Linked DNA regions of Homo sapiens: regions 1 and 2 are each linked to region 3. Evidence: promoter capture Hi-C in human tissues and cell types (Jung and others, 2019). All regions are on one chromosome and are shown on one strand. Each heading gives the region's core, a stretch centred on a gene start or on the middle of the fragment in contact. The rest is flanking DNA. Distances are from core to core; before and after follow the strand shown. Region 1 holds the start of POLR3K (RNA polymerase III subunit K). Region 2 holds the start of WDR90 (WD repeat domain 90). Region 3 overlaps AXIN1 (axin 1).

Region 1 (3,563 bases), core at 1,064-3,563, 290 kb before region 3:
CAAGAGACCCAAGGAAGGTCCTACAACAATACAAGGTTGCCCTGAGAATCTGACCCGGGCCTGTATGACTCCAAGGCTGGCACAAATATTGCTTGTCTGACAGATTATTAAACAGTAACAAATACAAATAAATTATTCAAGAACCATTTTCTATTTTTAGAAACCTACATCATTTATATGACATCATAGACTCTGCCAAGCAGTGGCATCAACAGCCTCATAATTATCCACAGTTTAGCAACAGAAACAGTTTTCCCTCTTACCTGCAGTAGAGTCAACATTCTCCCAGGCAGCTGCTCCACCAAGCACATCATCCACTTCTTTCAGTTTTGGGTACTTCCGATTTGTTACCTAACAAAAACAACACTTCAGACTCCAAGTAACTGAATAGCGCAAACCTGGGCTGCCAAACCTTAAATTTCAGGATTACATAAGAGTTCACTCGGCTGGGCGTGGTGGCTGACACCTGTAATCCCAGCACTTTGGGAGGCCAAGACGGGCGGATCACGAGGTCAAGAGATCGAGACCATCCTGGCTAACACGGTGAAACCCTGTCTCTACTAAAAATACAAAAAATTAGCCCGGCGTGTTGGCGGGCGCCTGTAGTCCCAGCTACTCAGGAGGCTGAGGCAGGAGAATGGTGTGAACCTGGGAGGCGGAGCTTGCAGTGAGCCGAGATCACACCACTGCACTCCAGCCTGGGCTACGGAGCAAGACTCCATCTCAAAAAAAAAAAAAAACAAAGAGTTCACTCTTCCCGTAGTTTCAAACTCCAAACTCCCACAACACAGTACAAACTGGAGTAGCATGCAAACATTAAGACTGACGTAGCACCAACATATTCTAACTGCTAAAAAGTAAAGGTATTCTGGCCAGGCGTGGTGGCTCACGCCTATAATCCCAGCACTTTGGGAGGCCAAGGCAAGCGGATCACCTGAGGTTGGGAGTTCGAGACCAGCCTGGCCAGCGCGGTGAAACCCCGTCTTTACTAAAAATACAAAAATTAGCCGGGGATGGTGGCAGGCGCCTGTAATTCCAGCTACTCGGGAAGCCGAGGCAGAAGAATTGCTTGAACCCGGGAGGCAGAGGTTGCAGTGAGCCGAGATTACGCCATTGCACTCCAGCCTGGGAAACAGAGCGAGACTCTGTCTCAAAAAAAAAAAAAAAAAAAAAAAAAAAAAAAAAAAAAAAAAGGTCGGGCGCGGTGGCTCACGCCTGTAATCCCAGCACTTTGGGAGGCCGAGGCGGGCAGATCACGAGGTCAGGAGACCGTCCTGGCTAACACACGGTGAAACCCCATCTCTACTAAAAATACAAAAAAATCAGCCAGGGGTGGTGGCGGACGCCTGTAGTCCCAGCTAATTGGGAGGCTGAGGCAGGAGAGTGGCGTGAACCCGGGAGGCAGAGCTTGCAGTGAGCCGAGATCGCGCCACTGCACTCCAGCCTGGGCGACAGAGCGGGACTCCGTCTCAAAAAAAAAAAAAAAAAAAAAAAAAAAAAACAATAAAAAAAAATAAAGAAAGCACACAATACATTACATAATATATTAGAAGGTAATAAGCCCTATGGAAACAATTACAAAGGGAAGGAGAATAAATTGGAAGGAGGGGCTGAAATTTAAAATACGGTAAAGACAAGACCAATGAGTAAGGTGGCGATCTAGGGGAAGAGTGAACTGAGCAACAGCAAGTGCAAAGGCCCTGCTAGCACCATGAGCACGATGAGAGATCGTCCAGGAGGCGGTGTTGATGCGGCAAAGGGCAACAGGAAGGGCATTAGGACTTGAAATCGGAGACGCACGCAGGGGAGGGAGTCAGTGTCGGAACCTGGTAGGCCCTGGGAGAACTCCGGCTTTTCGTCTGCGTGAGCTGGAGAAGAGCCGAAGGTTTCTGCGCACAGCACGGACCTGCGTGCCTCAGCTTTAAGGAAATCACCGTGGCCGCCGCTGTGAACGCAGAGAAGGGCGCGAGCGTGGGAGCAGGAACCCAAGGCGGTGGGAAACGGTGGGGCTTTCTGAGTGTATTGGAAAGTAGAGCCCACAGATCTGCTGCAGACCAGAAAGGGGCGCGAGAAAGAGCGGACAGAGGCAGACGCCGGGGCTGGCGGCGATGGAGCAGCAGTCGGAGGACGCGGAAGGCCTGCGAGAGTCGCCCGCGCCCAGCGCCGGCCTTCGGGTCCCACCTTGCGGGTGATGTTGTGCACGTAGGGGCACGTGTTGCAGGCGAAGCGGTGGCAGCGTTGTCCCTCCTCCACGATCAGCCCGTTCCCGCAGCCGGGGCAGAACAGCAGCATGGTCTCGAACTCCGCAGGCTCCAACTCCCGGCAGCTCCCACTGCCGCTCAGCGCCGATGCGCCGCCCGCCTCGAGCTCACATTGGTCCTGGCAGCCTTCCCGCCACACCAACCAACCAATAGACAGGGCGATTCTGCGCTCCCGGCCCTGCTGCAGGCTGTCTCGCACTTGTCATTGGTCACTGCAGCCGCCCCACCCCCCCCGGCGCGCCAGTGGCTGGGCGGCCTCGCTGGGGCGGGCCGCAGTTCCTGCGCGTGCGCGCTTGGCCTCCCTAGTGCGGGCTGGCAGTGCGGGCAGAGCCCGGCTGAGAGGGGCGGCCCTGGAGGAGACGGAGGCCGCGGGTGGGCCCGAGGCGCAAGAGGAAGATGAGGACGAAGAAGAGGCGCTGCCGCACTCCGAGGCCATGGACGTGTTCCAGGAGGGTCTGGCTATGGTGGTGCAGGACCCGCTGCTCTGCGATCTGCCGATCCAGGTGTGTGCGGGCGGGGGCTGGGGGCGCGGGAGTCGTTCCCCGGGGTCCGGGCATCCGGGCGCCGGCAGCCTCCGAAGGTGCTGGTGGGAGACTGCGGCCCAAGGCTGAGGAAGGCGCCTCTGGGCGTAAACGAGGGTTTTAACCTTGACCGGGCGCACTCGCCTGGGGCGCGAAGCTTAAAGAGGAACCAAAAACCTCATTAGTGAGTGACATCAAATGACATTTTAATGTAATTGTATTTAGGGGGCTCGGGGGACAGGGTCTTGCTGCGTTGCCCGGGCTGGAGTGCAGCGGCGTCCTCCCACCTCAGCCTCCCGAGTAATTGGGACCACAGGTGCGCGCTACCACACCCGGCTAATTTTTAAATATTTTGTACAGAGGGAGTCTCACTATGTTGCCCAGGCTGATCTGAAACTCCTGGGCTCAGGCGATCCTCCTGCCTCGGCCTCCCAAAATGCTGGGATTTAGGTGTGAGCCACCCGCCTGGCCTGTAATACCTTTAAAAGTCAAAGTTGAGGCAAAAAAAGAGCCTACGGTAAAAGAAAAATTTAGTTTTAAATAAGAGCAAGATTAGTAGTACTGATTGTTCCATTTGCCTCAAGCGTCAATCATGTGTCAAAGCGTCAGTATCATGCTTTGGGACGATACTGTCTTTTTATTTATTTATTTATTTATTTGAGACTGAGTCTTGGTCCGTTGCCAGGCTGGAGTGTAGTGGTGCCATCTCGACTCACTGCAACCTCCCCCTCCCGGGTTCACTACAGGCACGCGCCACCACGCCCGGCTAATTTTTTGTATT
Region 2 (3,578 bases), core at 169-2,668, 310 kb after region 3:
CCCTGCCAGGTTCCCACCCCAGGGGATGAGGGAGGGGACTCTTGTGCAGAAACCCCTTCTTCCCAGCGCCTGCCGCACTCGGAGTCCGGGTGAGCGGCTTGTGGTTAGCTCCAGGGGAGACTTGCCGGCTGGCCTGGGAGGCAGCATCACTGCCCAGCCTTCTCTGCCCACAGACTTTGTGCCCATTGACCTAGACGAGTGGTGGGCGCAGCAGTTCCTGGCGAGAATCACCAGCTGTTCCTAGTGGCTGCTGGGAGGGGGCGCTGCTACACGGCCGACCTGTCGCCAGGAGAGAAGCATGGCGCCCTGCCCACCCACTGCGCCTGGCTGGGTGCCGGCCACACCTGAAGTGCCAGCATTTGGACTTTTGCACCTTTTTTTCCCTTGGCCCGGCTGTCCCAACCAAGCTGCCATGGCCAAGGGCCGAACCCGTCTGACCTCAGCCCTGCTCACTGTGCCCAGGGACCAGCGACCAGCCCCTGGGGCTGGCAGGGAGGAGCTCCAGGCTAATAAAGTGGAGAAACTGTCTTTTTGGAGTGTCTTTGACTTGGGAGGGTGTAGGGGGGGTTCTCATGTCCAGTTCCAGTCCACAGCCTGGGACGCCAGGCCCAGCACAAACTCCCCTTGTAGCCCTGTTCCTTCAAGCCGTTAGCTTCTCACCCAGCTGCCCTGCGACAGGTAGGAGGGACGTTAGCCAGCCCACCTTGCTTGGAAGTCTGGGGACCCCACTTGGTTCCTCTTTCCTCTCCCGTTGGCGTTGACTGGGACCGAAGCCGAGACTCAAGGCCTAAAGACATTAAATGGCCCCGGAGTGCAGTCCACCACCCCCCACTACCGGCACTGGGGCTGTGTCTCAGAACGCCAGGTCCCATTCTGAATCCGCCGGGCCCGGCCGCAGGACACTGGGCGAAGGAGTACGTGGGGAACCTGATAGGACGAACGTGGGAACCAGCCCCTCCGCGGGCGCCCGCACTACCTTCCCTGATGGACGGGGATGACCCAGCCCACCTGAGTCAGGACCCAGGGTACCCAGGTGTGGAGCAGGGGCCTCTGGACGGCGAGAGAGCGGCAGGGTGAGGCCCGGCCGTCCGTGGCATGGCCAGGCCTCAGCGCGACCTCGCCTCGCTGCTTGCATGCGGCGGGAGCCCCGGCCGGCCGAGGCGCTGACAGGTGGGCGCGGCGGAGGATCCGCAACCGGCGCGGGCTTCGAAGCCGGTCGGGCTAACAGGGGGCTGCCTTGGGAGGCCCGCGGGGCAAAGGGCAGCGGGATTCGCGGCTGGAGCAACCCTGGAGGCCGCTGACGTGAGCGGGGTACTCCCACCGGGGAGGTCACGTGGCCAGGGCGCCGCCATGACGGCGGAAGTAATGGCGGAAGTGGCACCGTTGCCAGGCAGCCGTTGCCTGGCGTCGCGGGGCGTACTCTGCGCTGGGCGCGCGGAGGCCTAGGCGGGAAGCTCGAGCGGCGGCGCCATGGCCCGAGGTAGCGCGCGGCTGGCGGGGGTCCCGAGGATCCCGGGTTCCGGGGTTCCGGGGTCCAGGGTCGGCGGCCGGAGCGCTCAGGGCCCCCGCCTAGGCCCTGAGGCCAGAGTCCCCGCTCAGGCAGGGTCCCGTCTGCCGGGCGCCCACCCTCGGGCTCCCGGAGCTTGGCTTCCCTCGGGCGCCCGGCCTCGTCCCGCCAGCCTAGCTGGCGTTGGCGTCGCCGGGGAAGGCGCGGAGAGCCCCGGCTCCTGCCTGGTCCCCGAGGCCCGGCCCAGCCCCGCAGTGGCCCCGGCTCGCGTGGCCGAGTCCCCTGACGCCCGGCGCCCGCTCCCCGCAGCGTGGCAGCACCCGTTCCTCAACGTCTTCAGACACTTCCGGGTGGACGAGTGGAAGCGCTCCGCCAAGCAGGGGGACGTGGCCGTGGTCACGGTAGGCGGCCGGGGGCTCGCCCGGAGCCCACACCCCTGCCCTGCCCCCAGGAGAGCTGCCCCGCCCCCGAGGGCCCCCTCGCCCCCGCTGCACTTCTTCTGGGTGCTGTCGGTGATGCGGGCTCCCGCTTCTCCAGGACAAGACCCTGAAGGGCGCCGTGTATCGCATTCGGGGCTCAGTCTCTGCCGCCAACTACATCCAGCTCCCTAAGAGCAGCACCCAGTCTCTGGGGCTGACGGGACGATACCTGTATGTGCTCTTTCGGCCCCTGCCCAGCAAGCACTTCGTCATCCACCTCGATGTGTCCTCCAAGGTACGGAGCCCGCGGCTGGGGGCTGCGTGGGAGCCCCGGCACCCCTGCGGCCCCTGTCTCCTCACGGCCCTGCTCCGTCCCCACAGGACAACCAAGTCATCCGTGTGTCTTTCTCCAACCTCTTCAAGGAGTTTAAGTCTACGGCCACGTGGCTCCAGTTTCCCTTGGTCCTGGAGGCCAGGACACCTCAGAGAGGTGACACCAAGATGGGGTGTGGATGATCCAGGACAGGTGGCTGGAGGGAGTTGGTGCAGGCCCAGTGAGGCTCCTCTGCGGCCTGGAGGACAACCTGGCGGGGGCACAAGCTCACAGTTCTGGGAGTCGCGGGCTGTCAGGAGGGTGGGCGCTGACCCTGAGTGCCCATCCTGCAGATCTGGTGGGTTTGGCCCCCTCCGGAGCCCGCTGGACCTGCCTGCAGCTCGATCTGCAGGACGTTCTCCTGGTCTACCTGAACCGGTGCTACGGCCATCTCAAGAGCATCAGGCTGTGCGCCAGCCTGCTGGTCAGGAACCTGTACACCAGTGACCTGTGCTTTGAGCCTGGTGAGGGCCGCACCTGCACTCCCCACTCCATATCTCACCCATGCTCTCAGCCCTGGAGAGGCCCAAGTCCAGGGTGCTTGGGAAAATACAGTGCTCGAGCTGTGCTGTCTCTGAGCTCTGGCCAGAACCCATCCCAGAGGCAGCCCTGGGGTCAGAACCCATCCCAGAGGCAGCCCTGGGGTGGGGCGGTGGCTGGGCTGGTGGCGTGGCAGTGCCTTGGCGGGTGCCCTGTGTTCAGGTGGCTAAACAGCCTCCCTTGACCTGGAACAACCCTGCTCCTTGTAGCCATCTCTGGGGCCCAGTGGGCAAAGCTGCCCGTGACTCCTATGCCTCGGGAAATGGCATTCCCTGTGCCCAAGGGAGAGAGCTGGCATGACCGCTACATCCACGTCCGGTGAGTGGTTCTGCTTCTTTCGAGGGAGGCCTCGGTGGTGGGAGGGTGGGTGGCCCTTGGGCCCCCAGACACTGACTCTCCCTCTGCCTGCCAAGGTTTCCAAGTGAGAGCTTGAAAGTGCCTTCCAAGCCGATTGAGAAGAGCTGTTCCCCTCCTGAGGCAGGTGGGTCTGGGGGGTCAGCGGGGACCCAGGTTAAGGCCTGTAGGGTGCGTGGGGCTCGGTAGGAGAGGGCAGGGCTGGGAAAGGACCCAGTGGTGTGCTGGCTGCAGCTGGTGCAGGGACCCAGGGAAGCCCGTAGGTTGTCCGAGTTCCCAGAACCACGAGGGTGGGAAGTCTGTGTGAGGGGTACCCGGGGGCCCCAAGCTTTCTAGCTGGAAGAGGAGACTTTCAGGGCCTAGGGTGGAAGTGGGGATACTGGCT
Region 3 (3,851 bases), core at 1,213-3,712:
TTGCAACACAGCCCCTCTGCAGCCGGGCACCTTCAACAGCACCACCGCCTGAGGTCCAACGGACATGGAAACCCAAAACCACTCCTCCACAGACAACTCTGTACACATTTTGGGCCCTTTCTTTTTCTTCTTCTTCTTCTTCTTTTTTTTTTTAACCATTTCTTCTCTTAACCTTTTAGGCCATTACCAGAAACACAGTCAATAAACTAATGAGCAGGTCCGACGGTTCCTCACGCACCCCTGCGGGAACCTGAACGGCAAGGGCTGGCTGCCCACCTCGAAAGGACCCACCGGTCCTCTGAGCAGCTCCAGGAACCAGCAGCCCAAGACAAGCCACCATGTTGCTCCTGCTGTGGACATGTCTGTTGTCCACTCTCTGGCCACAGCCACATTGACCAGCCCTATCCACAAGTGCATCACTGGACTGGCCCGGGAAGACACACGAAAATATCCAGGAAGACCCTGTCCCCAGTCATCAAGGAAGGTCAGGGCAGTCAACAGAAGGGGCCAGCGGCGAGGAGACTGCGGGCTTGACCAAGCGGACCTGGCAGGGGCATGCAAGGCCAGCCCTGAAGGCCACCTGGTGGGCCAAGCCACCCTGAAGGGAAGCAGAGCCTGAGCCCGCCAGCCAGGGAGTGCAGGCCCTGGGCCTCCCGCCCAACACTCAGTCAACAGCAGAACCTGCCTGCTGATCCACACCGCTGAAATGACGAGGTGAACCAGCCAGCTCTGTTCAAAGTTCCACTGACAATGGGAACAAAGACCCGAGGGTGCAGAAAGTGTTCCCACAGAGGCAGAGCGGGGGAGCCAGGGAGGAACCCCATGAAACCTTGGCCCAGGAGCTCAAAATGACAGTGGGTGAGTGGGACAAACACAGAAAAGGGCCAGGAATGGAGCTCTTTCCTAGGCTGAGACAAAGACCTAAGCAGAACACTTCACTTTCCTCAAATCAAGTATGTGAAACCACCACGCGGCTCACACACGGACCAACAAGGACCCGCACTCAGGCGTCCCACAGGGGAACTGGATGCCTGTGGCCGTGCTGGACCGCAGCAGCCCCACCGCAGGGGATGAGCGACTGTGGCAGAGATGCAGGCAAAGTAGCCTCCAGGACAGAGGGGTCAGCACCCGAGGGCTGGCCCTCCTGGCACGTTCCTCCACGCAAATTCCACCCCGGTGAGAGGTGACAGCGTGCTGGCAGTCCTCACAGCCCTCGCTCGCTCTCAGCGCCTCCTCTGCCTGGGCTCTCACTTTGGTGGCACTTGAGGAGCCCTTCAGCCCACCACTGCACTGTGGGAGCCCCTTTCTGGGCTGGCCAAGGCCGGAGCCGGCTCCCTCAGCTTGCGGGGAGGTGTGGAGGGAGAGGCGCGAGCGGGAACCGCGGCTGCATGCGCTTGCAGGCCAGCTGGAGTCCCGGGTGGGCGTGGGCTTGGTGGGCCCGGCACTCAGAGCAGCCGGCCAGCCCTGCCGGCCGCGGGCAATGAGGGGCTTAGCACCCGGGCCAGCGGCTGCGGAGGGTGTGCTGGGTCCCCCGGCAGTGCCGGCCCACCGGAGCTGCGCTCAATTTCTCGCTGGGTCTTAACTGCCTTCCTGCAGGGCAGGGCTCGGGAGCTGCAGCCCGCCATGCCTAAGCCCCCCACCCCCTCCGTGGGCTCCTGTGCGGACCGAGTCTCCCCGACGAGCGCCCGGTCCCATTGACCACCCAAGGGCTGAGGAGTGCGGGCGCACGGCACGGGACTGGCAGGCAGCTCCACCTGCAACCCCGGTGCGGGATCCACTGGGTGAAGCCAGCTGGGCTCCTGATTCTGGTGGGGACGTGGAGAACCTTTATGTCTAGCTCAGGGACTGTAAATACACCAATCGGCACTCTGTATCTAGCACAAGGTTTGTAAACACACCAATCAGCACTCTGTGTCTAGCTCAGGGTTTGTGAATGCACCAATCGACACTCTGTATCTAGCTACTCTGGTGGGGACTTGGAGAACCTTTGTGTGGACACTCTGTATCTAGCTAATCTGGTGAGGATGTGGAGAAGCTTTGTGTCTAGCTCAGGGATTGTAAACGCACCAATCAGCGCCCTGTCAAAACAGACCACTGGACTCTACCAATCAGCAGGATGTGGGTGGGGCCAGATAAGAGAATAAAAGCTGGCTGCGGGAGCCAGCAGTGGTAACTCGCTCGGGTCCCCTTCCATAGTGTGGAAGCTTTGTTCTTTCTCTCTTTCCAGTAAGTCTTGCTGCTGCTCACTCTTTGGGTCCACACTGCCTTTATGAGCTGTAACACTCACCGCGAAGATCTGCAGCTTCACTCCTGAAGCCAGTGAGACCACGAACCCACCAGAAGGAAGAAACTCCGAACACCTCCGAACGTCAGAAGGAACAAACTCCGGACAGGCCGCCTTTAGGAACTGTAACACTCACGGCAAGGGTCCGCGGCTTCATTCTTGAAGTCAGTGAGACCAAGAACCCACCAATTCCGGACACACCGGGACGACTAACCGGCTCTCCACAGGATATGCATCCCCTAACACGTGAGGCCTAAGCTCCAGGCCCTGCTGTGGTAGCAATGCTCACCAGCCGCCTGTTCAGTACCCACTCTCCTTTTCCCTTTGCATTACCCGCAGCCTTCCTTTGGAGGACTGCCCCCAGCTCCCCACTGGGGAGCAGCCGTCTGTCTGGGTGGAGAACCCACTTTCCTTCAGGAGTGACCCTGCTGCACAGCCCCCAGCGCACGCACCGTGACTGTGCTGAGACAGACGGGACACAGCGGCACACGTGCCCTCCTCAGAGCAACAGCGGGCCCATCCGTCAGAGCTGCGGGAAGCATCTGTAAACAAGGGAGCCCAGAGCCCAAGGTCACTGCAGCAGCCACCTCCAACACAAAGCCCACGAAGTCGCCCACCAGGCAGGCAAAGTCAGAATGGCACAAAGCAAAGGTGCCAGGCCCTAAGGCACACCTGAGGCTCTGCCTCAACAGTGCCCTTCAGGGTTGGGCTCAGGTGGGTGGGTTTCCACGACTTCCAACCTAGTGCACCCTCACCTACACCTGGCAGGACAAAGAGAATGGTCTAAATGTGAGGAACGCAGCCTGGACTTCATGCCCTGTCTGTGCTGACAAGCAACCATTCCAACATCAGAGATCTTCAAGCCACAAGGCTGCACCACAGGCCACCTCCCACAGAGAGGATTCAACCGCAGACACGACTCCCAAGCCCCAGGGTCCTCTGCCACCAGCAGCCCCAGAGCAGTCAAGTTAGGACCCAAACTGTGTAGACAGAGCTACACAAAATTAGACAGGAGAAGCCAATGTATCCCACTAATTTCATAGCAAAGGTTCCTTATTACAAATACAGCAAACCAAGGACAGACAGCAAAGCTACTGCTCGCAGCCAAGAACTGAAGAGTGGCTGGGAGGGAGGCACTGGGGTTCCAACAGTGGAAATCAGAACGGAGCTCATTTTCCTCCTGCAGCCCAGCCCTCAACTTCAGTCCCATCTTAAAAATAACCAGCCGGGGCCGGGCGCAGTGGCTCACACCTGGAATCCCAGCACTTTGGGAGGCTGAGGCGGGCAGATCTCTTGAGGAAAGGAGTTCGAGACCAGACTGGCCAACGTGGTAAAACCCCATCTCTACTAAAAATACAGAAAATTAGCTGGGCATGGTAGCTCACACTTGTAATCCCAGCTACTCGGGAGGCTGAGGCAGGAGACTCACTTGAACCCAGGAGGCAGAGGTTGCAGTGAGCTGAGATTGCACTACTGCACTCCAGCCTGGGCGACAGAGCGAGACTCCATCTCAAACAAAAAAACAAGCAAAAAAAATAACCAGCCAGGTGCAGTGGCTCCCACCCGT

Evidence for each region. The method cuts DNA at HindIII sites, captures the fragments that hold promoters and counts their contacts. A contact is called where the count stands out against the background at its distance.
Region 1: a contact is called between the fragment with the promoter of POLR3K here and a fragment that was not itself captured in region 3, in 1 of the 25 tissues and cell types used here (lymphoblastoid cells).
Region 2: a contact is called between the fragment with the promoter of WDR90 here and a fragment that was not itself captured in region 3, in 1 of the 25 tissues and cell types used here (dorsolateral prefrontal cortex).

What each region holds. Positions count from the first base shown.
Region 1 is chr16:51,295-54,857 of GRCh38, forward strand. POLR3K (RNA polymerase III subunit K) reads right to left here and starts at 2,314. Exons shown (of 3, transcript NM_016310.5): 1 at 2,182-2,314; 2 at 264-351. The coding sequence starts at 2,292. SNRNP25 (small nuclear ribonucleoprotein U11/U12 subunit 25) reads left to right here and starts at 2,534. Exons shown (of 5, transcript NM_024571.4): 1 at 2,534-2,764. The coding sequence starts at 2,723. RefSeq lists enhancers at 1,580-2,106, 1,835-1,994 and silencers at 2,325-2,644, 2,785-2,884. The HindIII fragment of the contact is 23,499 bases long and covers 1-3,563 here.
Region 2 is chr16:647,947-651,524 of GRCh38, forward strand. WDR90 (WD repeat domain 90) reads left to right here and starts at 1,419. Exons shown (of 41, transcript NM_145294.5): 1 at 1,419-1,480; 2 at 1,817-1,908; 3 at 2,045-2,221; 4 at 2,308-2,416; 5 at 2,593-2,763; 6 at 3,049-3,157; 7 at 3,253-3,320. The coding sequence starts at 1,471. It overlaps MCRIP2 (MAPK regulated corepressor interacting protein 2), which reads left to right. Exons shown (of 5, transcript NM_138418.4): 5 at 174-528. The coding sequence ends at 244. It overlaps LOC105371038 (a long non-coding RNA gene), which reads right to left and starts at 1,367. Exons shown (of 2, transcript NR_135177.1): 1 at 1,009-1,367; 2 at 512-669. RefSeq lists enhancers at 1-33, 1,456-2,278 and silencers at 1,454-1,553, 1,664-1,793. The HindIII fragment of the contact is 7,525 bases long and covers 1-3,578 here.
Region 3 is chr16:339,907-343,757 of GRCh38, forward strand. All of the region lies in intron 2 of AXIN1 (axin 1), which reads right to left. Among named protein-coding and RNA genes, the nearest start is that of AXIN1, 11 kb to the right of the region's middle. RefSeq lists enhancers at 1-276, 1,559-2,110. The HindIII fragment of the contact is 5,555 bases long and covers 1-3,851 here.